Linked DNA regions of Homo sapiens: regions 1, 2 and 3 are each linked to region 4. The links are contacts of gene promoters, found by promoter capture Hi-C in human tissues and cell types (Jung and others, 2019). All regions are on one chromosome and are shown on one strand. Each heading gives the region's core, a stretch centred on a gene start or on the middle of the fragment in contact. The rest is flanking DNA. Distances are from core to core; before and after follow the strand shown. Region 1 holds the start of UBE2I (ubiquitin conjugating enzyme E2 I). Region 2 holds the start of NPRL3 (NPR3 like, GATOR1 complex subunit). Region 3 holds the start of TPSD1 (tryptase delta 1). Region 4 holds the start of METRN (meteorin, glial cell differentiation regulator).

Region 1 (7,083 bases), core at 2,089-4,588, 590 kb before region 4:
TGTCACCCTACTGGTGGCCACCTTTACCCACGAAAAACAGCGCTCAAGATACAAAACTTGCCCAAGAATTCAAACCTAAGTGTGTGCTGGTTTTCAAAGTCCATGGGAACACTGAAGCTACTACCCCCAAGTCTGATATCTCAACACCAAACAAGAGCCACCTCTACAAAGCTGGGGGACTGAGCCAGGTCTTCTAAGCTGTGGGGGGCCGTCCCTACTACGGCTTGGGCTGTCCTAGAATAGCCACAAGGGCCCTGGGGACCTGGATGGCTCCCACACCTGTGGAGGCCCACGAACCTCACACACCTCGCAGCCGCAGAAAGGGGCCAGGTCAGCAGCTCCACCTGCGTCGGAGCCGCCGCAGCCTCACCTGGCACTCGTTAGGGAGACAAGGCCCAGTCCCCGGCAGACCCACGGACGAAGGAGCTCTGAGAGGCCCGCACTCAGGTTCTGGGTGGCACGATGACTTCCCCAGTCAGCAGAGCAGAAATCGGGGGTGGGGTTGGGATCAAAGAAGCCAAGGCAGGTCCAGTGTCGCCAGGGCACCAGGCTTCTGAAGCTGCTAGAGCCGCCTGCCCTGCAGGTGAATTTGGCTCCTTTTCACCAAACACAGATCCTCAGGGCAGCCTGAGAAAAAGCAGGCGAAGGAACCTGGGTCCTCCAGTCAGCAGGCGCTGGCGTCACAGCGAGAGGGTGACAGGGGCCAGCCGGGCACTGGCCTCCAGGTCCACGACTAAGTCCAAGACAGGCAGCCCGGGCTGGAGGCAGCCCCAGACCGGGCCCCACCGGGATGTCCTTCCCCACGCCCTCCTCACATGATGCAGAGGAGCCCGCAGGCCGCCCGCCCTCTGGACCGTTTGCCCTTCCCCGTGCCCTCCTCTAAGTGAGGGGGGGGGAGCCAGGGGCCAGACAGGGAGAAAGTGGGGGGCACAGCTATGGTCAGGCAGGGTTCGAGCCCAGAGCGGAGTGGAGCGCCCGCCAACCACGGTTTCAAGGCTGTCTCCGCACTGGGCTGGACTCCGAAACTCCACACGTTCCTCCACCCTCCACTCCCACGTGGAGCAGCCCAGCTGCGACTTGAGGACTCACAGCTCTCGCTTCCCCAGCCCCAGGATGGGCTTCCTGAGTGGCCGCAGCCTGTGCCCGGTGCGGTGCAAAGCAGCCTGGCGAGTGGCCATTTCAAGGAGGCACGACCTCCCAGGTGCCCGGGGTCTGAGCGAGGCCAGGCATCAGGCAAGTCTCTGAAGCCTCAGGCCAGTGCTCCAGACACTGAAGGACCATGGGCAAGGCTATCCTCACAGCCAGGCAAGGCCAGGCCACAGAGAGGCCAGACGGGCCTGGGACCCTGCCACAGGCAGCCCTCCTGCTGAGGACTGGACAGAGCCGCCTAGAGGCCCCCGTCCCAGCACCTAGCTATTGCTGTCTCAGGTGTGAGAAGTCGTGAGGGGTGGTCCTGCGAGACCTCCTGCCAAGACCTGGCTGCTGCTGCTGTGTCCCCTGCCCCAAAGCACTCAGCACCACGGGGTGGTCTCACAGGCACTGCACCGCCAGGGCAAGGAGCCACAGGTGCACACCCACCGTGTCCCAGACAGAAGCCAGGCCCCTCCCCCTGCACCCCCTCCTACTGGCCTTCTGGAGAAAGCGGCCAATCTGTTACAATGTAATCACAACACAGATCAAGCGTTCAAAATTCCGCTGAAAATCGAATTTGCCCTTCCAAATTCACAGATAGGCACTTAGTGAACGGCTAGTAGTTACTAAACGCTTCAGAGCAAGAAACTTTTATGATGCAAAGACAAAAACAACCCTCATCTATTAGAGCCAGGCAAGGCCCAGACACTGCAGAAACGGGGACAGGGCCGGGCACTCCAGGAGCGGCCCGAAAGTCTGCCTTCTGTCCTCCTGCTGGGCGCCCGCAACCGGCTGAGCTTTAGCTTCTCGGATCACCGCCTTGCTCTGCTGGTTGACAGCACCGACTTCAGAGCAACTTCCTGGCTGAGGGTGAGCAAAGCACTCACCTCCCACAACTCCACCGCACTGATCTCCACAACGGGTGGTCGCCACGACAGGCTGGCACAAGAAGCCTTTAAAGGCCCTCCTGCACCCAAATGCAAACTCTCCCAGGCTTGGGGAGGTATTCCCTTCTGCAAGACCCAAGCACCTGCAGTCGGGAGACGCTTACCTGGCCGCACCTGATCTGCCCCAGGCCCCGAGAATGTTTCTGAAGCAAGATCCCAAACCCTGAGACACCATACAAGCGCACACCAGCAATCACCCAGTGGCCTAGGGAACGGACCTCTCTGAATGAGCAATCAGGGCAAACTGAGGATCCGTCCCGTCTTCCGTTGCATAGGTTCTCTACCCAAAGGCAACGTTTCTTGAAGAGCAAGAAACACTTGGGGTAGGTCCTGTAAAAGGAAACAAACCGAACTCCCCAAAGACAGGCACTTTGCAAACAGAGAAACTAAGCGTAACTTCCAATTATACAAACAAAACCACTTCATTCTGCGATTCAAGCGTGACTACAGGCCACGATCACAAGCCCAACTAATCATTCCCTTACATTCCTCCTACGCACGTTAACTACCAGAACCAACTACTATTCAACCGATAAAAAGAGATGTCCAAAACAGAATAAAACTCCCCCTCCAGCGAGGCGCTCACGTTCAGGGCCCCAGCAAGCGCCAGCGGAGCATCTTCAGAGGCACAAGAAAACTTACACTTGTTTTGGTTTTAAGGCACCGAAAACAAGCCCGCTCGCCGGCCCCCACCCCCGCGAGCCAGCGATGTTGCAATCCAAGACTCTCCCCCCGCGGCCCATCCTATCCGTCCGCGGGGCGACCGTGACCCCGGAAGCCGCTCCCCGCGCAGGAGGAAGGCGCGGCCTCGCGGGGCCCCGGCTGCAGGTGGCTGCCCCGGCCCCGCGCCAGGCGCACCTCGGGGGCGAAGTGGGGGAGCCCCGGCCCCGAAGGCCTGCGGCGGCCCGGCCGCTCGGGCCGCAGCCCAGCGGCGCCAGCAGCGCGGACCGAGCCGGCGCCGAGCGCGGGGCCTCTCGGGCTCCCCGGAAAGCTCGGCCGCGGCGCGGGGCCCGGCTCGGCGGGGCGGGGCGCGGGGCAGTCGGGGGCCCGGGCCCAACAGGAGTAGAGGCCTCGGCCCGACCCCCGCCCCGCGGCCCCGGCCCGGCCCCCGCACGCGCTCACCTCGGGCGGCCGCAGCCCCGGCGAGCGTAGCGGACAGGTGGAGGACCGAGCGGGGCGGCGGCGGCGGCGCTTCCCTTTGTCTCGGGACTTCCCTCCGGAGCCCGCTCCGCGCGCAGCCAGAGCAGCTCCGAGGACCCTGGCGCGGGCGGGGCGCGCGGGGCGGGGCCTAACGCGGGGCTGCCCTCTGCACGCCTGCCTCGCGCGCCGCTCCTGCCGCCCGGCCCCGAGCGCCTCCCGCGCCGCCGAGCGCTCCCCGTTGCCCGCGCCCCGCCGCCGCGCGCCCGCGCCCCGGGTCCGCCCCAGGAGCCCGGCCGGGGGGCGACTTTCCAGTCAGGCGGCGCCCTGGACACCTACGCCCTTAAAGGAGCCGCGTCCCCGATGTGAGGGAGCGTCTGTAAACTCCCCTTCGGGCTGCCCGCGTCCACCCGAGGACACGCCGGCAAGCAGCGGGGGAAAAAGGAAGCCGAGATCTCCAAAGGCTCCCCGGATGCCTGGCGGTCACCTCTCCAGCCACAGGTCCCGGAGGTTTCCTTGGGGTCAGGTCCTGGGGCCGGGGGTCAAAGACCACTGAGGCCTAAGGATCCTCTGAAGCGTCGCAGGACGGTGACGCTCCCGCGAGTTCAGCGCCCTGTGAAACCCCTTGCAATTGGCCAGTTCGGGGCGGTAGGCGGGGACACCTTCTCATCCGCCCAATGAGCTGACCCCGTACAAAAGGCCGAATGCGAGCATGACCGACGGGAGGAGAAGTGTGGATGCTCCCTAAACCGGGGGCTGGCCCTGGGCCGGGGCGCGGGCGGGACGTGGGGGACCGCGAGCGGCGGGGGCGGGGCGAGCCCGTGGGGGAGGGGCGCTTCCGGTCCCCCCTCCCGCCCACGCAACAAGCAGGACCGGGTCGGGAGGCCCCCAGACCCGCGAGCGCGCGGGACAGTCCGTTCGCCAACGCGCGACCGTGCTGGCCCCCGGGCTCTCCCGGCCCCCCCGCCCGCATTTCGCCGACGGCGGGGCCGCAGCCAAGGTCACGGTGTCCGGGTGCTTGGGGACCGCGGGGAGTGACCACATTCATTCATTCCCTCCCTCACTCATTCATTCATTCCCTCCCCTACTCCGTCATTCCCTCCCTCACTCACTAATTCCCTCCCTCCCTCACTAATTCCCTCCCTCCCTCATTCATTCGATCCCTCCATCACTCAATCATTCCTTCCCTCTCTCACGCATTCCCTCCCTCACTTACTCATTCATTGCCACCCTCACTCACTCATTCCCTCCCTCACTTACTCATTCATTCCCACTCACTCATTCCCTCCCTCACTCACTCATTCCCTCCCTCACTCATTCCCTCCCTCACTCACTCATTCCCTCCCTCACTCATTCCCTCCCTCACTCATTCATTCCCTCCCTCACTCACTCATTCTCACTCTCACTCATTCCCGCCCTCATTCATTCATTCCCGCCCTCATTCATTCATTCCCACCCTCATTCATTCCTTCCCTCCCTCACTCATTCCCTCTCTCATTCATTCCCTCCCTCCCTCACTCACTCATTCCCTCCCTCACTGATTCCCTCCCTCACTGATTCATTCATTCCCTCCATCACTCATTCATTCCTTCCCTCACTCATTCCCTCCCTCACTCATTTCCTCTCTCATTCATTCATTCCCTCCCTCCCTCACTCATTCCCACTCTCACAAACTCATTCCCTCCCTCACTTACTCATTCCTCCCTCATTCATTCCCTCCCTCATTCGTTCATTCCCTCCCTCATTCATTCATTCCCTCCCTCCCTCATTCCCTCCCTCCCTCATTCATTCATTCCCTCCCTCATTCATTCATTCCCTCCCTCATTCATTCCCACCCTCCCTCATTCATTCCCTGCCTCCCTCACTCATTCCCTCCCTCACTCATTCATTCCCTCCCTCCCTCACTGATTCTCTCCCTTATTCATTCCATCCCTCACTCATTCCCTTCCTCCCTCATTCACTTCCTCCCTCACTCATTCATTCACTCCCTCCCTCATTCATTCATTCCCTCCCTCCCTCACTCATTCCCTCCCTTACTCATTTATTCCATCCCTCACTCATTGCCTCCCTCCCTCATTCCCTCCCTCTCTCCCTCATTCATTCATTCCCTCCCTCATTCATTCCCTCCCTCACTCATTCCCTCCCTCACTCATTCATTCCCTCCCTCACTCATTCCCTTCCTCCCTCATTCATTCATTCCCTCCCTCACTCATGCATTAATTCCCTCCCTCACTCACTCATTCCCTCCTTCACTCATTCACTCCCTCCCTCCCTCACTCATTCCCCCACCACCTCCCACAGGGTCCCCAGCGGGCATTTCCCTGTCAGGCACCTGCAGCAGGAGGGGCAGCCACACACCCTGGGTCTGCCTGCCTGGGAGGCGCAGCCGTGGGGATGTGGGTCCAGGGCAGCAGGGGCAGCCTCCCCCAGAATCCAGTCCCTGGAAGCCATGCACAGCCCTGTCCCACCAAGACCAGCGGGGGCCTGGCCTGGCTGCAACTCCCAGGCTCAGAGCCTCCGTGGCCTGTCTAGACACCTGCTGTCCTGGCCCCCAGCCTTGAGGTCCTGGGAATCTGCTTTTTTTTTTTCCTTTTTTTTGTGAGATGGAGTCTCACTGTGTTGCCCAGGCTAGAGTGCAGTGGCGCCATCTTGGCTTACTGCAACCTCCACCTCCTGAGTTCAAGCGATCCTCCTGCCTCAGCCTCCCGAGTAGCTGGGATTACAGGCGTGCACCACCACACCCGGCTAATTTTTGTATTTTTAATAGAGACGGGGTTTCACCATGTTGGCTAGGCTGGTCTCAAACTCCTGACTTCAAGTGATCCGCCCACCTCGGCCTCCCAAAGTGCTGGGATTACAGGTGTGGACCACCACGCCCAGCTGAAATCTGCATTCTTAACCAGCCCCCTGGGCAAGCCTGGCAGAGGGATATGGCCCTTTGGCTTCCTGACATGGGCTAAGGTTCCAACGCCATCTTTCTGGCGAAGATGCCAGCACAGGGCTGTGTGGGGAGGCGTCAGCCAGTAAAAGCCGTGGCTGAAGAAAAGCAAGACAGCCACGGGCCTCGGTGGATCCCGCTGCAGCCTCAGGCACAGAGAGGGCAGGGCTGGTGAGGTGGGGGGCTTGTCATGAGTGGGGCTTGGGGAGACTGACTGGATGTGGTGTGTGGCTGGGGAGGGCCTGGGCCTGAACCTGTGGGCCATGGGAGCCATAGAAGGTTGTGGAACAGGAGAAGTAAGACAAGGCCCTGGTTCCCTGTGTGTGTGTGGTGAGGGACTGAGGAGACATGGCTCAGGCATCTAGAGAATTCCTGTCCTGGTGGGAAGTAGTGCCAGGAGGGGCTGGGGTTTGGGGAGGCTGTGGCAGGTGAGGGTGAGGGACATGGAGCAGGTAGGGGTGAGGGTCATGGAGCAGGTGGGGGTGAGGGGCATGGAGCAGGTGGGGGAGGGAAGAGGCTCCCTCAGTTGTGCATCCTCAGCCCACAAGTGTCCTTTGAGCAGCCTGCACCTGGCACACGTTTTCAAGGAGAGGGGACTTGTTGGGTCCAGCTCCCTGGGTACAAAGGAGAAACTGAGGCTTGGAGAGGGTGGGGGGTTTGAATCAGTAACTATAAGATCCTGGGCAAGGCTTGTGGCTGACTGTGCCAGGCACGCGCCCACCTTTGCCCTGGTCCCCTTGGGAGGGGAGCAGGAAGTGTGATGCAGAGCTGCCTGCGGTAGGGCGGGACCTCCAGTGCCCTGGGTGCCCCCTCCGGGGCCTGCTGGGGCCAGGCTCTGCACAGGGGTTTGAGAGCAGAGGCCTCTTCACTGAGGGCCGATTCCCCCAGAGGAATAAGGGCCTCTGCAGTAGAGTGAAGGTGGACCCTTAC
Region 2 (6,719 bases), core at 3,852-6,351, 580 kb after region 4:
AACATGTCTGAGGCTTCCATGGAGCAGGAAACAAGCCCTGATGGTTTGTGTGGGCTGGGAGTCCGGCTGGGGCTGGGGCTTGTCCCTTCCTGTCCCTGGGCCTTGGTTTGAGCCCCAGCCTGTGCAGTGAGTGTGGAATGCTGGTGTCCACTGGTGGTTTCTGGCCTGAATTCCAAGCTCCAGGCACGTTCTGTGCCTGAGCAGCTGAGGCTGAGCTCAAAGGGTGTCTGGCCACTTACAAGCCACTGGACACTCAGCAGAATGCCGGATTGGGCATCTGCAAACTCTCCCATGAGAGTGGACCCTCGGTGACCCTGAACAGGCTAATTTGCCTTGTGAGTCCTAGTTTCACTGTTTTCACCTCTAGGATGGGGATTAGACTAGCCCCCACCTCAGTGTTGGGAGGGCGCTCAGGAACTTGCAGCATGAATTTTAAATTATTTCTATTACTACTGTGTGTGAGTGGTTCTCCCTGGTGGGGCAGCAACACTCAGCTGAGAAGGTGGAGGTGTCCAGGCAAGTCCCAGATAGCGTCTGTGAACCCCACCCGGCCCTCCTGCAGATGGCGGTGGCCCTTTGAGGCCCAGACCAAGTGGCAGGACCGATAAGGCCTCCTATCCTGCCAAGGGCAGGCCCAGGCTGGGAGGAAGGGTCAGGGGTTTCAGTTTCCAAAAATCTACTTACCGTCAAAAAAGCAGGTCATGAAACAGCTATTTAAAGGTAAAATGAGGAGACTTGGAGGTGTGGGGTCTTAGCAGAGAAGAGCCTGAGGATGTCCCCTGTAGCAAATGGAGGTTGGCCCTGGTGCTTCATTGTCCAGGAGACCCTGGGAGAACTTAGAGCTGGGACTCACTCAGGGACCATCTGCTCTGAACCCTGTTACTGGTGGGGAAACTGAGGTCCAAAGCAAGGCCCACTGACCCTCAGGCCAGCGTGTGACAATGATGTCTCATTTCTGTCACAGCCAATGAGGTGCAAACATGGACATGAGGGTGGCGCTGGGATCCAGAGTGCTGCTTCGAGGGCAGGGACGCACCCAGGACCTCTGTGGGCTGGGGTCATGGTGAGCTCCCTGCACTTTCACCAGTTCGAGCTCTCATTATGACTGACGATAGTCAGAAGAATGAACAATGAGTGCCAGGGTTACTGGCAGGAGGCCAACCCTGAGAGGGTAACCGGGGGAACAGTGGGATCCTTTGAGCCCAGAGATGTCCAGTCTGGAGCCCCAAGGTTCTGCCCATTGGGGCAGCAGCACGATTAGGTCAGAAGAGCGAGACCTGAGTCACAGTCCTGCTCCATTCGCATGGTCGCTGTGAGGGTCCCTGTGAGGAGGCCTCCATTACCACCACCGGCCACTGCCCTGGGTTCCCCCACCCCCATCTGTCCCATCTCACCCCTCCAGCCTCAAGCCCTGCTCCTGCAGTCTCATTTCCATCCCAGAGGCACTCCTGGGAAGTGCGGGAGAACTCACAAACCTTTTGATTATACATAAAATCAAAACATGGACAACGGGGATAAAGCCTTGCAAAATGTGTAGCAGAGGTTATGTATTCCTCAGAAAGAACACAGCCAGACCATCCAAGAACAGACCACCTGTAAAGAAAACAAGAAAAGCAATTCTCTGCAAATAATTAAGTGATGCAGCTCTCCCTCTCAATCAAAGAAATGCAACATAGAACAAGACACCATTTTCCTTTCTGGGAATTTCAGGAAAAAAAAAAATGTTATGCAGGCCGGGCACGGTGGCTCACGCCTGTAATCCCAGCACTTTGAGAGGCCGAGGCGGGTGGATCAAGAGGTCAGGAGATCGAGACCATCCTGGCTAACGCGGTGAAACCCCGTCTCTACTAAAAATACAAAAAAATTAGCCGGACGTGGTGGCGGGCGCCTGTAGTCTCAGCTACTGGGGAGGCTGAGGCAGGAGAATGGTGTGAACCTGGGAGGTGGAGCTTGCAGTGAGCTGAGATCGTGCCACTGCACTCCAGCCTGGGCGACAGAGCAAGACTCCATCTCAAAAAAAAAAAAAAAATTAGCCTGGTGTGGTGGCGGGCACCTGTAGTCCCAGCTACTTGGGAGGCTGAGGCAGGAGAATGATGTGAACCTGGTAGGTGGAGCTTGCAGTGAACTGAGATTGTGCCACTGCCCTCCAGCCTGGGTGATAGAGCGAGACTCTGTCTCAAAAAAAAAAAAAAAATGTTATGCAGCCCTGTGCAAGAAAACGCACCTGTTGGTACTGTTGAGCCATTTCAAATGCACGTACCCTTCACCCTGGTGAGGCCAATCCACAAATTTGTTCTGCAAAATACACATTAGTGTCAGTGTTGGTGCAAGAGGGTTACTTGCAACAGTGAAAATGCTCATCCCTCAGTCAAGTGGTTAGGTTCTGATGCATTTGATGTGCTTGGGAAAGTTCTGGAAGCAGCCAAAGAAGCTCATTACCTTTAGTTACCTCCTGGGGAAGCCTGGGATAGGGTAGGTGGGGTGATTTTTTAAAAAACAACTTCATTGAGATATAATTTACCATACCATACCAATTTGCATACCATAAAGCTTATCCACTTCAAGTGTACACTTCCATATCTTTTTTTTGTTTTTGAGATGGAGTCTCGCTCTGTCGCCCAGGCTGGAGTGCAATGGTGCGATCTTGGCTCACTGCAAGCTCCGCCTCCCGGGTTCACACCATTCTCCTGCCTCAGCCTCCTGAGTATCTGGGACTACAGGCGCCCGCACCATGTCCAGCTAATTTTTTGTATTTTTAGTAGACACGGGGTTTCACTGTCTTAGCCAGGATGGTCTCGATCTCCTGACCTCGCGATCCGCCTGCCTTGGCCTCCCAAAGCGCTGGGATTACAGGCATGAGCCACTGCGCCCGGCACTTCCATGTCTTTTAGTGTATTCGCGTTCTCAGAGCTGTCCAACCATTACCACAGTCAACGTTAGAACATTTTCATCACTCCCCTTCAAAAAACCCATGAATCGCTCCATATTTCCCCTGACCCCCTGGAAGCCCTAGGCAGCCACTAATCATTCTGTCTCTATGGATTTGCCTATTCTGGGCATCTTATATAAATGGAATCATATATTAGTGTGTCTTCAAGATGGATTCATGTGCCGTACTTCATTCCTTTTTATGGCTGAATAGTATTCCCTTAAACAAACTATACCATATTCACCCATTCATCAATTGATATACCCTAGGATTGCTTCCACTTTGGGCTATTATGAATAATATTACTAAGAACACACATGTTTTTGTGTGGACATATGCTTTCATTTCTCTTGGCTATATATCTAAAAGGGGGATTTGCCGAGTGTTGTGTTAACTCTAACCTTTCAGGAACTGCCAGCCTGTTTTCCATAGCGAGTGTAGCCTCTTACATTCCCACCAGCAGGAGAGAGATTCCCGTTTCTCCACACCCCTGCTGACGCTTGTCTTTTTGATTACAGCCATCGTAGGAGGTGTGATGTGGCATCTATTTGTAGTTTTGATTTGCATCTCCCTAATGCCTAATAATGTTGAGCATTTTTAATTTCTGTTTTGCCCAGGCTGGTCTGGAGTTCCTGGCCTCTCAGCGCTGGGGTCACAGGCGTAAGCCTCTACCAGTTGAGCTGAGCATCTTCTGGTGCTTATTGGCCATTTGCATAATGCACTGGAAAAATATTCATATCCTTTGTGCATTTTTCAATTGTCTTTTTATTGTTGAGTTGTAAGTTTCCTCCATTCTAGATACAATTCCCTTATCAGATATGTAACTTACAAATATTTTCTCCCGTTCTGTGGGTGGACTTTTAATTTTCTTGATGGTGTCCTTTAAAGCACCGAAGTTTTTGTTTTGTTTTGAGATGGAGTCTCGCTCTGTCGCCAGGCCAGAGTTCAGTGGCACGATCTCGGCTCACTGCAACCTCCGCCTCCCGGCTTCAAGCGATTCTCCTGCCTCAGCCTCCCGAGTAGCTGGGATTAGAAGCAGGCGCCGCCAAACCCAGCTAATTTTTGTATTTTTAGTAGAGAGACGGGGTTTTACCATGTTGGCCAGGATGGTCTAGATCTCCTGATCTCATGATCTGCCCACCTCGGCCTCCCAAAGTGCTGGGATTTCAGGCGTGAGCCACCGCGCCCGGCCGCAGTAAAGTTTTTAATCTGATGAAGTTTAATTTATTCTTCTGTAGTCGCTCCTGCCTTTAGTGTCACTGCCTCGCCCAAGGTCTCAAAGATCTCCTGTCGGCTTCCAAGTGTTTTTTTTTTTTTTTTTTTTTTTTGAGACGGAGTCTCGCTCTGTCGCCTAGGCTGTAGTGCAGTGGCGCAATCTCGGCTCACCGCAAGCTCCGCCTCCCGGGTTCAAGCGATTTTCCTGTCTCAGCCTCCCGAGTAGCTGGGATTACAGGCGCCCGCCACCACGCCCGGCTAATTTTTTTTTTTTTTTTTGTAGAGACGGGGTTTCACCATGTTGGCCAGGATGGTCTCGAACTCCTGACCTCGTGATTCACCCGCCTCGGCCTCCCAAAGTGCTGGGATTACAGGCGTGAGCCACCGCGCCCGGCCTTTTTTTTTTCTTTTTTCTTTCTTTCTTTCTTTTTTTTTTTTTTGATACGGGGTCTCGTCGCTCTGTCGCCCAGGGTGGAGTGCAATGGCGTGATCTTGGCTCAATGCAACCTCCGCCTCCCGGGTTCAAGCGATTCTCCTCTAGGATTACGGGCGCCTGCCACCACGCCCGGATAATTTCTTCTAATTTTTAGTAGAGATGGGGTTTCACTATGTTAGCTAGGATGGTCTCGATCTCCTGACCTCGTGATCCGCCCGCCTCGGCCTCCCAAAATGCTGGGATTACAGGCGTGAGCCACCGCGCCCCGCCCAAGTGTTATTTGTAAAACGAAGAAACCAACATCGAGAGGGACGCTGACTCGACCCCGCGCCTTTCCCATCCGCACCAGCAAGAGGGGCCCCTGTGCCCCAAACGCGAACCGTACGGCTCCAGACAGCACCGCGGAACTCGGTGGCTTCCAGAAGGCCCCGCGCCTGCGCATTCCGCTGCCTGCGCCTGCGCCTGCGCCTGCGCCGTTCTCCCGGCCGCCGCCTTAGCACCTCCTCCGGACGGTGTCGCCGAAGTCTCGCGAGCCCGGAGCGTGGCACGTGGGTTGGTAACTGTGGCGCTGCTCCGCGTCCACCACCACCCCTGTCCTCCTCAGGCCCCCTCCGCCTCCACCCCTGCCCTCCTCAGGCCCCCTCCGCCTCCACCCCTGCCCTACTCAGGCCCCCTCCGCCTCCACCCCTGCCCTCCTCAGGCCCCCTCCGCCTCCACCCCTGCCCTCCTCAGGCCCCCTCCGCCTCCACCCCTGCCCTCCTCAGGCCCCCTCCGCCTCCACCCCTGCCCTCCTCAGGCCCCCTGCGTCCCCGCCTCGTCCTCCTCAGGCCCCCTCCGCCTCCGGCTCCGTCCTCCTCAGGCCCCCTCCGCCTCCGGCTCCGTCCTCCTCTGGCCCCCTCCGCCCCCGGCCCCGGCCCCACGGCGGGATGCGGGACAACACCAGCCCCATCAGCGTGATTCTGGTGAGCTCGGGGAGCAGGGGCAATAAGCTGCTGTTCAGGTACCCCTTCCAGAGAAGCCAGGAGCACCCGGCGTCCCAGACAAGTAAGTGAGCGCTGGGCGGGGGCCTGGCGCTCGCGGGGGCCGCCTCATTCCGGGGTCGCCTCATTCCAGGGCCGCCTCGCGGAGCTTAGCTTTTGCTGGGCATTCGAGATCTGCTCGTTGTAGAGTATTTGAAAAGTAGAAAAAGGAAAAAAAAAATTAAAATCATGCATTGTTCACCACACCAAAGCAACTACTGCTGACATTTCATCAGTCTCCAGCCTTTAAAAAATAAAGTAAAATAAAATAAAATGAGTTTGGGATGTATTCATCATGAGAAAATACAAAATTACACGAACAAGGCCGGTGGCGGTAATCCCAGCACTTTGGGAGGCCGAGGCGGGTGGATCACCTGAGGTCAGGAGTTCGAGACCAGCCTGGCCAACATGGTTGAAACTCTGTCTCTACTGAAAAAATAAAAATAAAAAAAAACAAATTAGCCGAGCGTGGTGGTGCGTGCCCATAATCCTAGCTACTTGGGAGGCTGAGGCAGGAGAATTGCTTGAACCCGGGAGGCGGAGGTTTCAGTGAACCGAGATCGCGCCACTGGATTCCAGCCTGGGCAACAGAGCAAGACTCCGTCTCAAAAAAAAAAAAAAAAGTTACGTGAACATCTGAAGTTGTCTTTGCCACCCCCAGTTCTAGCAAGCACAGGGATCACCCCTGGCCGTGTTGGGAGTTGTCTGCCCTGTGCATAGATGCAGATCTATCCACAGGAAAAGGGAACGTCGCGTGAGGTTTTTCATCGCACGAATTGTTCTGTGGCGCCCTTTTCCCATAGTCGGCCTTGGAGCTCCGTCTGCCTTTGCAAGCAGGGATCAACCTCACCCTTGGCTGCAGGCTGCTGCCTTCCCCTGTGGACGGCATGTAGGTTACTTTTGATTTTTCATCATCATGAATGTTCAGTTTTTGTTTTTATTTTATTTATTTTTTGAGACGGAGTCTCACTCTGTCGCCCAGGCTGGAGTTGAGTGGCGTGATCTCGGCTCACTGCAGCCTCCACCTCCCGGGCTCAAGGGATTCTCCTGCCTCAGCCTCCCAAGTAGCTGGGGCTACAGGGCATGTGCACCACACCCTGCAATTTTTTTTTTTTTTTTT
Region 3 (6,976 bases), core at 2,787-5,286, 540 kb before region 4:
CCCTGTGCTTTCGGGACCTCTGCAGGGCAGAGAAGAGGTGGAAGGTCAAAAGGGAGGGTCTGGGGAGGCTCCTGGCTCCTCCGCAGAAGTTTCTGCAGGTGAGCGGCTCGGGGACTGGCCTTCACCCTCCCACCTGCCCTCGCCCGCCCTGCCTGTCACTCCCGGGGATGAGGGTCGGGAGGATCCCCACAGGGCAAGGGCTTCAGGGCAAACCCAGGCTCTGAGCCTCCGCGCAGAAACCACATCTGGGTTTATACTTTCTCCCACGCCCCTGGTCTTTCCAGAGTGGGGCAGAGCAGAGCAGTTGGGGCGCCCCAGCTGGGGGAGTCACTGCACTTCAAGGCAGTGGGGGAAAGACTCCCGGGGTGTGGACGGGTAGGGCACTGCCCTTTCTTTCCCGGGGAGCTGGCTGCCTCTGACACTCCTCATGCTTCCCTTCCTGGGAGAAAGCGGGGAGCCCCAGGCCAGGTTGCCGGCTGCTCTAAACCCAGGGTGAGACCTGCTGGACACAGCCCAGGGCCTCAGGGGACGTGACCACAGCCCGCGTCCCAGGGCGCTCTCGGCGGGGGTCCAGGGTCCAGCTGCACCCCGCCACCTCCCAGGGGGCTCCTGGGTCTCCCACACTGCCCTGGCTCCCTGGGCTTTCTAAGACAGGCAGCGGGCAGTGATCAGTGCCATTCCCAAGTCCTCCGAGCCACGTCCCCGCCCAGCCGGACCCCGCTGGACCCTGCTCTGCCCTGGCAGCGTTCAGAGTCCCTCCCTTGCAGCCCCTGATCTGTGCGACTCACAGGACACCAAGACCCAGACGGGAAGCCGAGCACTCACACCCTCAGTGCGGCCACGGCAGGCTTCCGTGTTTGACGGAGAAATCACCTCCCGCTGCCGGGAGGAGACCGAAATTAATTGCTCCTCCTCCAAACCGGGAGCCACCTGTGCCCCCACTCGCCGACCAGGGCAGCTGAGGAGGCCCCACCCCACAGTGACTAGTTGTGCCTCGGGGTCCAGGACCCCGCAGCTCCTGCAGCTGCCCCGAGACATGCCTAGACCCTTCCTCCCCCGTGACACCCACGACCAGAAACACAGTGACGGCCACACCTGCTTTCCATCATGCACTTTAATGAGAGTCAGCACTAGAGAGGATGGGCGTCCACCACCAGCTGCCTGGGCAGGGGAGGGCCGGAGGGGCCGGGAGGGGCGGATTCAGGGTTGGGGAGGAGGCTCAGGATGGAGGAGGGGGCAGGATGGAGGAGGGGGCTCAGGATGGAGGAGGGGCTCAAGAAAGGGGAGGGGGCTCAGGATGGAGGAGGGACTCAAGAAAGGGGAGGGGGCTCAGGATGGAGGAGGGACTCAAGAAAGGGGAGGGGGCTCAGGGTGGGGGAGGGGGCTCAAGAAAGGGGAAGGGGCTCAGGGTGGGGGAGGGGCTCAGGATGGGGGAGGGGATCAAGAAAGGGGAGGGGGCTCAGGACAGGGGACAGGGCTCAGGATGGGAGAGGGGACTCAGGATGGGGGAAGGTGTGGGGGGCAGTCACCACCTGGGTAGGAAGCAGTGGTGGTTTGGACAGGAGGGGCTGGCCCTCCAGTGACCCGGGTGGACACCCCAGGCCTGGCTCAGGGCTTCTTGGGGACATAGTGGTGGATCCAGTCCAAGTAGTAGGTGACACGGGTGTAGATGCCAGGCCGGTTGGGCTGGGCACAGCTCTCCTCCCAGCTGACCACGCCCGCCTGCAGTTAGGTGCCATTCACCTTGCAGACCAGGGGCCCTCCAGAGTCACCCTGGGAAGGTCAGAGGTCAGTGCTCGCTGGCCAGGCTTCGGGGGTCAGGATGAGGGATGCGCTCGCTGGCCAGGCTCCGGGGATTGGGGTGGGGGACGCGAGGGCCCACCTGGCAGGAGTCGTGATTTTCGCTCCCCGCACACAGCATGTCATCGCGGACGATTTGAAAGCTGTGGCCCGTATGGAGGCCGGTGTGATATTCCGCGTTGCAAAGGTGGTTTTCCACTACGGGGACTTCCACCTCCTTCAGCGGGTATGGCGGCGGCAGGTGCACTGGGGGCGGAGGGGGGCGTGGAGCCGGGTCTGGGGCCGGCTGGGTGCTGCTTCGTGGACTTGGTGGCAGAGTCACGGGCAGGGGAGATGGCACCATGGGCCCAGTGCTGTTCTGTGCCTGCAGCCCCGGGGAAGGGGCGGTGAATGCAGTCCAGGCCCCTCCGCTGAGGCTGGTCCTGGGTCCCTGGCCTCATTTAAGCCCCATCTGGGGAAGGGAGGGGAGGGCCCTGGAGGTTGCCAAGCTGGGCTCCATGGCACGGGGGTGCAGAGCCCGACCCGTGTCTCCCCCTGGGCTCAGCTGACTTTCGTCTGGGCTAGGCCCATGGTCCACGGTTGGCCCTAGCCGAGGGGAACACAGGGCGCTGGGCTCAGCTTCCCCGCTGTGTGGGGCGGAATAGCGGGACAGTGGCTCAGGCCCCTTCTGAGTGACCCAGAGGTCACAGCCCAGGGTTGCCGCTCAGGCTGTACCCCAAAGCTTTGCTCTGAATTGTGGATAAAATGGGGACAAGACCTTCTAGAAGTGAAAATGTGCCTCGTGGAGGGCCACAGTGAGCTTCGTCCAGCCCCCCACAGCACTGCCACGACCCCGATTCCCAGGCCCCTGCCTTGTCTGTAGCACAGGGATGGAGGGCAGGCAGGTCTCATCCCAGCACCGGTCTCTCTCCTTCCAGCAAGACCCCCGTGTGATTTCTCTCTCCACATAGCAAGTCCGTGACGTACAAACTTTTGATGCACCCTTTCAGGCAAGGGGAAACCGAGGCACGGAGGTGCTAAGGGACTCTCCAAACCCCTGGGGTGGGGGACGCCCAGGCCCTTTGGACTCACCGTCTCTGCTCAGGGCACCTGCTGCCTCTCGCCACCGCCTGCTCCATCCATCCTGGCCTCCACAGTCCCCCTCCCTGAGCCGCCCTGAGGGACCCTGTCACCCCACGGACTGGCCTGTGGCTGTGACTTGGTGCCCACCTGGCCCGGCCTCCCGCTGTCCCCAACACCCACCATTATTGTCCACGTCGCCCCAGCCAGTGACCCAGCACGGCATCCCCGGGGGGAAGGTCTCCGAGGCAGGGGGCAGCGTGACCGTGTGGATGTGGCTGGAGATGTTCACGGGCTCCTCCAGCTCCAGCAGGGCGATGTCCGCCCCGGTCTGGATGATGTAGAACTGTGGGTGCACGATGATCCTGCTGACCGGCAGCAGCTGGTCCTGGTAGTAGAGGTGCTGCTCCCGCAGTTGCACCCTGAGGGCGGCCAGATCCTTGATGTCCCTGGGCAGCGGAGGATCCCACTCAGGGCCCTGGGCAGCCCCCAGGAGCACCCGGGAGCCAGGGCTCACATCCAGCCCTTGCCCACCCCTCCAGGCCCCAGGAGACTCACGGTTCCACGCAGTGCGCCGCGGTTAGCACCCACTGGGGGTGGATGAGGGAGCCCCCGCAGAAGTGCATCCAGTATGGGCCGCGGACTCTCAGGCTCACCTGCCAGGGCCACTTGCTCCTGGGGGCCTCCTGCCCCCCAACAATGCCCGTTTGCTGCAGGGCCTGGCCTGGGGCTGGGGCAGGTGCCAGGTCAGGACCAAGAAGCCGCCCCACGCCTGGGACCAGCCCTTCCCTGTGTGGGGGCCAGCCCGGCCTCCCCAGAACCCACCCAGGCCCTGATCTGTGGAATGTGGTGAGGGGCAGGGTGGACCCCGGCTGGGACTCACCAGGGGCCACGTAGGCCGGGCTCGCCAGGACGGGCAGCGCCAGCAGCAGCAGGCTCAGCATCTGGGGAGCAAGGAGGAGCATCGTGGGCCTGGCCGGGCCTCACAGGGCAGGGCTGGGGGCTACAGATTGTGGGGTGAAGAATGGAGCTGGGACGGGGGGACCGGGGTGGGTCCAGGCCTGCGGGCCTGGGTCTTGGTGCTCTGAGTCTGAGGCTGGGCCACTCTGCTCCAGGTGACGCTGATGTCAGGGTCTCTGAGAGTAGGGACTTACCCTGGCCACTCCCTGTTCCTTCTACCCAGCGGGCTCTCCCCTCCCCATTTATGCTTCCAGATCAGGAGGGGGCGGAGGAGGGGCGCTGGGTCCTCCCATCCAGACTCGGAGGAAGTGGATGACTCAGACCCAGGGCCCCCGTGTAACACATGCCCCCGCCACCCCGATGCCCTCTGTGTGTGGGGCTGCCAGGCAGGCCCCGCCGAGGGCTGAGCACTGGAGGCTCGCAGCTCCACCTGTCAGCTGGTGGATCCCAGCACTGGAACCCACCACCTTCCCGCTGGTGGGATCTGCTCCTGCCCCTGTCTCGGTGCCAGGAGGCCTTCAGGCATAGCTGCACCCAGGTGGCCTGGCTGCCCCAGGCTACAAGACCCGTCGCTCCTGAAACCTGTTTCCCCAAGAGGGACACGGGGTGAGGAACTCATGTCCATGGGCCACCCTCCAAGAGACGGGAAGGTGCCCACGGGGTGGGGACATGACGGGTGACACCCCTCCTACGGACTCCGAATCCACGGGGGTGGGGCCAGCCCTCCTCGACTCACTTGGTTGGGGGCTCACATGAGACCCCTTTGTCAGATGGGGAAACAGCCTTGAGAGGGGACAGCACCAAGTGTCCTCAGCCAGGAAGGGGCCCTGCTCCCCACCTCCCGTATGAGACCCAAGTCCTCCAACGATTCCTCAATGTCCACCTCTGGGGCTGTCCGTGCAGGTCCCCTGGTCTGCAGGTGCCTTCTTATCATGGGATCTGAGCTTCATCCGCAGAGGGAAGGGCAGACAGGAGTGCAGGTGCAACCCCAGGAGACCCAGCCCAGCTCCCCATGGACTCACCCCCAGCCCCAGCCCAGCTCCCCATGGACTCACCCACAGCCCCAGCCCAGCTCCCCATGGACTAGTCCCAGCCCCAGCCCCAGCTCCCCATGGAGTAGTCCCAGCCCCAGCCCCAGCTCCCCATGGACTCACCCACAGCCCCAGTCCAGCTCCCCATGGACTCACCCCCAGCCCCAGCCCAGCTCCCCATGGACTCACCCCCAGCCCCAGCCCAGCTCCCCATGAACTAGTCCCAGCCCCAGCCCAGCTCCCCATGGACTAGTCCCAGCCCCAGCCCAGCTCCCCATGGTCTCACCCCCAGCCCCAGCCCAGCTCCCCATGGACTAGTCCCAGCCCCCGGCCCCAGCTCCCCATGGACTCACCCCCAGCCCCAGCCCAGCTCCCCTTGGTCTCACCCCCGGCCCCAGCTCCCTGTGCTCTCCATCCCATTCAGCGCTGACACTGTCCCTGCAGCTCCGTCCACCCCACCTCCTGACTCACCTGGGCCTGTTGGTCACTGGGGCCTCCAGCCCACCTCCTCTGCTTCTGAGCCCCAGGACCCCCTGCCTGCCCCCCGACCCCCAACACAGGGCCACTCCGGGGCTCCTCCTGCCCCCACCCTGCCTGGGACCAGCCTGGTTTGAGGCTGACTCTGCACTGCGGGGCCATATCCATCTGGACTCCTTCCGGGCTGCACCCCCCGGGGGACAGGCAGGGGTGGCCCAGACCGCTCCTGCTCATGACCCTGCTTCTCCTCCATTCTCTGGACAAACTCCCCAGAGGCCTCCACCTGCCCCGTCCTGGTTCCATGAATGAGGCCCACAAGATGGGACCTTCAGGAGCCCAGGAGGTGAGGGGATGGGGTGACGGGGGACACCAGGGATGAGGGTGTGGCAGGGACACGGGAGACACCAGGGCTGACGGTGAAGAAGAGACTCAGGGGACACCAGGGCTGGGAGAACCCAGGGACACACGGGGACACCGGGGCTGTGGTGTGCAGAGGGCTCTGGGACCCCCGAGTCAGGGGCTCTGGGGCCGCTCCTCCTAGGAATGCTCCGATTGGGTCAGGCCTGGGAGGCGGACCAATCAGCACCATGGGGATGCGAGAGCCTTGATTGGCTAACACTGGGCCAATCAGGGCGCGTCCTGGGCACCCCGCCCCGATCCCCGGCCGCTCCCCTGGGGCTGCTGCAGGGCTGGGGTCCCAGGCCATTGACAGACACTGGGCAAGAGGCCACGTGGGGCAGTGTCCCCGAGAGAAGGGTGGGGAGTCGGGTGAGACGACAGTGGCCGCGCCCAGACTCAGGGCAGCGATGGGAAACTCAGCCCCAGGAGCTTGCTGGGCTGGGGAGACGCACCTGGCGCGTGCAGAGGCCCCGGCAGCCATGACTCACGAGGCGGAGAACTGCACGGAGAGCTCCGGGCATCCGCAGGGGGTTCCCCCCGGCGTCCTCGGCCGAGTGCCGGAGATGCAGAGAGACGTGGGAGCCGCGTCGGAAACGAGAACCACCAGATGAGAGGGGCGGAGTCCGGGAGTGCGCGCGGGGCTGGGGATATCGCGTGTTCCCAGCAGCTGAGTGGAGAAACCTTGTCAGAGGCAGGCACTGGAGAGTCCTCGGAAGGGTATGGAAGGGTACGAGGGGAGAAAGTAATCCCGAAACCAAAGGCTTCTCCGGACCCACCCTCACAAAGCTGAAAAGCAAAGCGCAGACGGATCCAAATGATTGCAAGTGACTTAACTGCCTGTGAGAACACATCTCAAAACGATGTCAAGGAATAGAACACAACCCAGCACGCAACAAAACACTCCAGAGAGTACTCACGAGATCCGGGGGCTAGTCAAGAACGAGCGGGTGGCCGGGCACGGTGGCTCACGCCTGTCATCCCAGCACTTTGGGAGGCCGAGGTGGCAGATCGTGAGGTCAGGAGAACGAGACCAGCCTGGCCCACATGGTGAAACCCCGTCTCTACTAAAAATATAAAAATTAGCCGGGCGTGGTGGCACGTGCCTGTAATCCCAGCTACTCGGGAGGCTGAGGCAGGAGAATCGCTTGAACCAGGGAGTCAGAGGATGCAGTGAGCCGAGATCGTGCCACTGCACTCCAGTCTGGTGACAGAGCAATACCGTGTCTTAAAAAAAAAAAAAAAAGCAGGCA
Region 4 (6,549 bases), core at 550-3,049:
GTGGTGAGGAGAGGCCCTGCCCTCTCCCGGCATCACCCCAGGCCCCGTCCCTTGTCCGCACAAGCGGCAGGAGGCAGCAGGCAAATGAGCAGAGCCCACGCTCAGGGCCTGATGGCACCTGGGGGTCCCAGAGAGCTACACAGCAGATGTGCACGCCCTCGGCGACACCTGTACTCAGGAAACACACTTGCAGGCGCGTACCTCCAAGGCAGGAATGCACACAGACGTGGGCCTGGGGGCCATGCCTAGCGATCAGCTGTCCTGGGCCGCCCTCCTGCACTCCCATCTGACATATGCACCCCAGCATCTGGGACCCCTCTAGTTTCCCGGATCTGAGGTCTGAAGAGCAGCAGCCCAGCTAGGGTGATAGGAAGTGGGGGCAGAGGAAGGGTGGTCTGGGGTCCCTGGCCCAGGGCCAGGGGGCAGAATAGCGAGAGCCCATCCCTTTCAGGGTCAGGCGCCAAGCTCCAGGAGAGCCAAGCAAGAGCTGGGCCTGGTGCCCTGCAGGGAGGCGAGCGGCGTCTCCATGGTGACCGGGCTGCACACTGGACTTTTGTTGGTTGGGCTGGGGGAGGGGAGAGAGGTCACCGCTGGGCCAGGGAGCCCCGGACAGCTTTGGCCGGAGGCTTCGATTCTGTCCCCACCATCTCTTCCCCCAACCGTTCAGGGACCAGAGGCCCAGGATTGCTGGGCCCGGCCTCCCCTTCCCTCCACTCTGCCCCTGCCAGCTCTTTCCAGAGATGAATCGGGAAGGGAGGGCGGGGAGGCCATCCCTCCCCAGCAGTCCCAGGCTGTGTGGCCTGACAAGCCCATCCAACCCTTGTAGCTCACTTTTTCCTTCTGCAGTGGGGCCGACAAGGCACATTCCCGCCAAGCCCAGGCAGGGTAAGACTTCGGGACTCCCACCCTGTCCCAACCAGACCGCCACTCACCGTCTACGCCGAGACCGTGGGCCTGCGGGGGCAGCTCGGGGCGCCCGTCCTCGCGCAGCTCAAAGCGGAAGGCGGCCACGCGGCGGCTGATGTCCTGGTGCGGCGTGGCCTGCAGGAAGAGGGCCCGGCGCTCGCGGGGACCCCAGCGCACGCAGCGGCCCCCTGCCGGGCCCGGGCCCTCGGCCAGCAGCAGCTCCAGGGCGCCCCCTGCGCGCTCCGCGAAGACCTGGGCGCCCGCGAAGGGCCGCACCGGCCGCAGACAGGCGATGCCGGGCCGCGCTCTGGGATCGGGGCCGCCCAGGGTCAGGCGCAGCGCCCCAGCCGGGTACAGCCACTCAACCGCGCCCTCCGCACAGGCCAGGGCCAGCTGCCCCACGCTGCCGGGCTCCTGGGTGAGGCCGCTGGGGACAGGACGGGACGGGGCGCTGAGACGGGGGCGGGTCCCCGCCCGGCGCAGCCCCCGCTCCCTCCCGAGGCCGCCTCGCGGATGGGGAAACCGGCCCAGCGCTCTGCGCGCTCCGAGGGGCGCCTGGGGGGTCCTAGCCGCAGCGCACCCCGTCCTAAGTGCGGGGACAGCCCCCCGGACCGTACCTGCCCCTCCAGCTGCAGCGCTCCTCGGAGTAGCCGGCGCGGGCAGCCGGGGCCAGGAGGCCGCAGCACAGCGCGCAGAGCAGCGCCGCGGCCGGGAACCCCATGGCACGGCGGGCGGCGTCCGGGGAGTCGGGGCTCTCACCACCGCTGCCCCGGCGGGGCGCGGGTCCGGGCGGCGGCGGGAGCAGCCGGGGGCGCCGGCCGCCCGGCCCCGGCGAAGCCCCCAAGCCCGCGGCCGCTCCGCCTGCCGCGCAGCCCCAGCGCCGGGGCCGCCTTGGAGCGGGTCGGGAAGGGGGCGGGGCCTGCGGCGTGTCGGCCAGTCGCGGCGCGGCCCGGAACTTTCCGCCAATAGCAGGCGCGGGGCGGAGCGGGGGCGGGGCCGGAGCTCGGGCGCCGCCGGAGGACTATCCCACGGTCCAAGCGCCTCGAGGGTTGGGGGGGGCCTTGGCGCGGAAGGGAGGCTCCTTGCCCGCCCCGCGCTGTGCGTCTCTCCTTCGCCGCGCCCTCACCCTGGCCTCGCCCCCCGCGCTGTCCCGATCGGAGTCCTGGAGCCTCTGATGGAGCCGAGGTTTTGATGTCCACTGGAACCTCGGGGTGGCGGTAGGGAAGGTGGCCCACCTGGTGGTTCCGCCTCGCGGGCGGCCGGGCCTGCTCCTTCCTAACACTGGGACCTGGGCCTGTTGGCCACATCCCTCCCAACCAGGTCCGGTCCTGCTGACCAGAGGCCGGTGGAGCCCCAGAGGAGAGGGGTCATGACTCCAGAGGCGGGGAAGGCCTGGCCTGGGGGCTGCGCCTTGGAGCGGGGCCAGGCCTCGGGTTTTGGTAAGGCCGTCTGCAGGAGGGGGTCCTGCTGAAGAGCGCGCAGCCCGCAGGCTTAGGCCCCTTTCCTCAGACCTAGCGGCACCCCATAGTTGCCGGATGACCGACCCCGGGCCAGACGGGGCTCCTGGAGGGGCGTGAATGGAGCAGCCACGGGCACCCCTGCAGGCCTGCAGCACGTGGAGACACAGGAGCTGGGAGGACACCCCTGGGCCACAGGAGCAGCCCCCACCAAGATGAAACAAGCAGAAACAGGCGATTCGCAAACACACTGTAGCCTCAGGCTGGAGCAGTGTGGGATTCCCAGCATCCGGGACTGCTGAGTTGGCCTGATGGGAGGAAGTGGGCAGTGGCTGGCCAGGTGGACAGGAAGAGAATGGGGGAGAGCAGACAGCCTGGGTCAAGGGCCTGAGGAAGGAGCTCTTGGCAGCCCAGTGAAACCCCAGGGCATGGGTGGTGGGTGGGGACGACAGGTCAGATCACAGAAGGCCTAAGGCACAAGCAAAGGGGTCCCACTACATACTGAACCCCTTACGGACGACAGAAGCTTTAGCCGGGGACTGCAAGGACCAGCATAGACTGTGCAGCCTGAAGATGTGAACATTCCGTCCCCTGCCCCCAAACCTCCTGCCACCCGGCGCTCGAAACTCATGGTGGACAGATGAGTTCACCAGTGGCAGTCGGACAGATGAGGCCAGATGGCTCAGTGGCAGTGGGAGGCTGGATCCCACTGACCAGGCCCTCCCTCAACCCCAGGGCCCTCCCAGGCCAAACAGGAACAAGGCGCCTACTGGGCTCGGCCAGCCCCTTGCTCTGGGCGAGGTGCAGGTCAGAAGTAGCCATCACAATCCCCAAAAGGTGGAAGACTCCCAAAGGCCTGTCTGCAGCTGAGTGGACAAGCAAGTGCAGTGGGTCCATTTTTTTTTTTTTTTTTGAGACGGAATCTCGTTCTGTCGCCCAGGCTGGAGTGCAGTGGCTCGATCTCGGCTCACTGCAACCTCTGCCTCCTGGGTTCATGCCATTCTCCTGCCTCAGCCTCCCGAGCAGCTGAGACTACAGGCGCCCGCCACCACACCCGGCTAAATTTTTGTATTTTTTCTTTTTTTAGTAGAGAGGGTGTTTCACCGTGTTAGCCAGGATGGTCTCGATCTCCTGACCTCGTGATCTGCCCGCCTTGGCCTCCCAAAGTGCTGGGATTACAGATGTGAGCCACCGCGCCCGGCCTCTTTTTTTTTTTTTTTTTTTTTTTTTTTTTTGAGATGGAGTTTCGCTCTTTGCCCAGTCTGGAGTGCAATGGCGCGATCTTGGCTCACTGCAACCTCCACCTCCTGGGTTCAAGCGATTCTCCTGCGTCAGCCTCCCGAGCAGCTGGGATTACAGGCATGTGCCATCATGCCGGCTAATTTTGTATTTTTAGTAGAGACGAGGTTTCTCCATGCTGGTCAGGCTGGTCTTGAACTCCCGACCTCAGGTGATCCGCCCACCTCAGCCTCCCAAAGTGTTGGGATTACAGGCATGAGCCACGGCACCCCCTGGCGGTGGGTCCATTATTAAGCCATAAAAAGGAATGAAGTTCTGGTCCCTTGACACCCGCTACAGCCTGGATGAGCCTGGAGGCTTATGCGCTGAGCAAAATAAGCCAGAGACAAAAGGACAAACACTGTTGGATTCCACTTCTGTGAGTCACCTTAGAGTAGTCACGGTCATGAGGACAGAAAGTGGAGCAGGGGCTGGGGAGGGGAATGAGGGATTGGAGCTTAATGGGGACAGAATTCAGGAGCTTGATTACACAACACAAATGTACTCAACAGTACGGAACTGCACACTTTAAAATGGGTAAAATGGTAGATGTTATGATGTATATCTTACAATTAAAAATAAAAATTGTCAAGGCGCAGCGGCTCCCACCTGTAATTTCAGCAGTTTGGGAGGCCAAGGCAGGGAGATCACAAGGTCGGGAGTTCGAGACCAGCCTGGCCAACATGGTGAAACCCCATCTCTACTAAAAATACAAAAATTAGCTGGACGTGGTGGCGCACGCCTGCAGTCCTAGCTACTTGGGAGGCTGAGACAGGAGAACCGCTTGAACCCGGGAGGTGGAGGTTGCAGTGAGCTGAGATCAGGCCACTGCACTCCAGCCTGGGTGACAGAGTGAGAGTCTGTCTCATAAAAATTAATTAATTAATTACATAAAAATTAAGGCCGGGTGTGGCAGCTCCTGCCTGTAATCTCAGCACTTTGGGAGGCTGAGGCAGGATGATCGCTTGACATCAGGAGTTCAAGACCAGCCTGGCCAACATGTTGAAACCCCAACTCCACTAAAACTACAAAAATTAGCTGGGTGCAGCAGCTCATGCATGTAGTCTTAGCACTTTGGGAGGCTGTGGCAGGAGGATTGCTTAAGCCCAGGAGGGTGAGGCTGCAGTGAGCTGTGATTGCACCACTGCACTCCAACCAGGGCGACAGAAGAGACCCTGTCTCAATAAAAATTAAAAAATAAATAAATAAAATATAAAAATCGTAAAGGTTAAAGGGTAGACTCGGCCTGGGGCTGAGCACATGAGGTGCTCGCAGAGGTGGGGAGAGGCACACGGGTCGGCCGCTGCAGCCACCCAGCCGTCCAGGGCTGCTGCCGCTTGGCGGTCCCCGGGTCAGCACGGTGGGCTCCAGGCGCCCTCTGGTGGCGGCGTGAGGGTCAGCCCCAGACACCCTCCTGACAGCCTGGGCCCCGGACTTCTCCCCAGGCCTCCTCCAGAGAGGGGCCAGTGTCTGTGGTTGGAGGGAGGGGTTCCTGGGGTGACCTGGTCTGGAATGGCACATGCCTGGCCCCGAGTTGACGCCTCAACCCCGGGCGTCCCTGCCTCCTCCCCAGCCTCATCTCCGGGGATCCGGTGCCAATGCAGCCACCCACAGGAGAAGCCCTGGACACACACCCCTTTTCCTCACAGCCCCCGGCCCCACCCAGGAAAGCACCTGGCATCAGTGAGTGCTGTGCTGCCTACAGGAGGGGCCTGGAAGGCCGAGTCTGTCCTCAGTTGCTATGGGTACAGGACCCGACTTGCCAGGGTGCTGGTGCTCAGTAAATACCAGCAGACTAAGTGGGGGGTGGCTGGGCGGAGGAGTGCCTGGAAGGCATCCCCAAGCTTAGGTGATGCCGTGGCTGTCTGTGCTGTTTGGGGGCCCCCTCAAGTGCCCCAAGCCCCAGACCCTTGAGTGCCCTGAAACCCCAGAAGGGGCCTCTCTCCATTTCCACCCAAGTCAGAACGCGACAGCAGCAAGACATACTCAAGTCAGACAAAAGGAAGAACTTCCCTGAGGCTTTGTTTCAGAAACCTTGGGCCTAGCGCGTGAGGCCACCCCTGGAGAGTGCAGAGTCTGGGACAATCATCTCTCCCGCCTGCGGGTCAGCCTGGCCGTGGCCAAACACAGACGCCATATCACAAGGCCCCTCAGCCCAAGGCAGGGCGGCCAGCCTCACAGCTTGTCCCGAAGCCTGAGACTTGGTTTCTGTTCCTGTCTTGCCCAGAGGGCCCTTGGAGCTGCAGCCTGAGGGGGTGCTGGGGTGGGGGCGGTCGAGACCCTGGTCACTGCCACATGGTTCCCACCTTCGGCCACTGCGTTCTCCCCCCAGACACAGGTTCCGGCCCGTGGAGGACACCAGTGCTGCATTTGCCATGAGCTGGGCCCCAGCAGTGCGTGGCACAGGCAGCCCACGTCCCGCAGGGGAGCGGCTGCGGACAGGTGGCTGCGCCACGGAGTGCCGAACAACCCGCTGGGGACACCACAGTGCCGGGCACAGAATAGCAGCTGTCACGGCCAGGGCAGGAGCTGGCTGGCTGGGGCCCTGGGGGAGCAACATCAAGGACGAGGGGAGTTGATGGGGGGGCAGGAAGGGAGCCCCAACCCTGGGGAGAAGAGGGGCAAAGGCCCTGAGGCAGACAGAACTTCGAGTAAACCAGGAACCACAGAGGGTGAGCCCTGGGGGCTCCTTGTTTGCTTGAAGCTCCATCTGCCTCAGAGCCTTTGACCTGCTGCAAAGGGGAGGCGGGTAAGGCCGGCCCCACCCAGCCCATCTGCCCTGAGGGAGTTGGGGAGTTTGGACGCACCGGTGAACAGGATCCCCCAGGAAATGGGGAGGAAGCCTAGAGAGAAGGGCCAGATCGTAGGCCAAGACCCCCGCCTGTGTCTCTGTTCACTGGCAGCGGAG

The links. Contacts are between HindIII fragments. The study calls those that stand out against the background at their distance.
Region 1: a contact is called between the fragment with the promoter of UBE2I here and the fragment with the promoter of METRN in region 4, in 4 of the 25 tissues and cell types used here (dorsolateral prefrontal cortex, lymphoblastoid cells, mesenchymal stem cells and 1 more).
Region 2: the fragment with the promoter of NPRL3 here is called in contact with the fragment with the promoter of METRN in region 4 in 1 of the 25 tissues and cell types used here (lymphoblastoid cells).
Region 3: a contact is called between the fragment with the promoter of TPSD1 here and the fragment with the promoter of METRN in region 4, in 2 of the 25 tissues and cell types used here (lymphoblastoid cells and mesendoderm cells).

What each region holds. Positions count from the first base shown.
Region 1 is chr16:1,305,891-1,312,973 of GRCh38, reverse strand. UBE2I (ubiquitin conjugating enzyme E2 I) reads right to left here and starts at 3,338. Exons shown (of 7, transcript NM_003345.5): 1 at 3,201-3,338. RefSeq lists enhancers at 735-784, 2,217-2,828, 3,530-3,769 and silencers at 2,800-2,989, 3,190-3,489, 3,980-4,269. The HindIII fragment of the contact is 23,762 bases long and covers 1-7,083 here.
Region 2 is chr16:137,055-143,773 of GRCh38, reverse strand. It overlaps NPRL3 (NPR3 like, GATOR1 complex subunit), which reads left to right and starts at 5,101. Exons shown (of 14, transcript NM_001077350.3): 1 at 5,101-5,132; 2 at 5,440-5,624. The coding sequence starts at 5,507. RefSeq lists a cis regulatory region at 301-819, an enhancer at 5,172-5,221 and a silencer at 5,442-5,671. The HindIII fragment of the contact is 17,392 bases long and covers 994-6,719 here.
Region 3 is chr16:1,253,129-1,260,104 of GRCh38, reverse strand. It overlaps TPSD1 (tryptase delta 1), which reads right to left and starts at 4,036. Exons shown (of 5, transcript NM_012217.3): 1 at 3,743-4,036; 2 at 3,418-3,589; 3 at 3,043-3,308; 4 at 1,883-2,046; 5 at 1,097-1,773. The coding sequence starts at 3,824. The coding sequence ends at 1,729. The HindIII fragment of the contact is 12,300 bases long and covers 1-6,976 here.
Region 4 is chr16:710,368-716,916 of GRCh38, reverse strand. METRN (meteorin, glial cell differentiation regulator) reads right to left here and starts at 1,799. Exons shown (of 4, transcript NM_024042.4): 1 at 1,524-1,799; 2 at 933-1,333. The coding sequence starts at 1,627. RefSeq lists enhancers at 1-390, 391-988, 989-1,586, 2,185-2,783 and silencers at 1,041-1,100, 1,201-1,630, 1,731-2,040, 4,928-5,057. The HindIII fragment of the contact is 3,141 bases long and covers 1,047-4,187 here.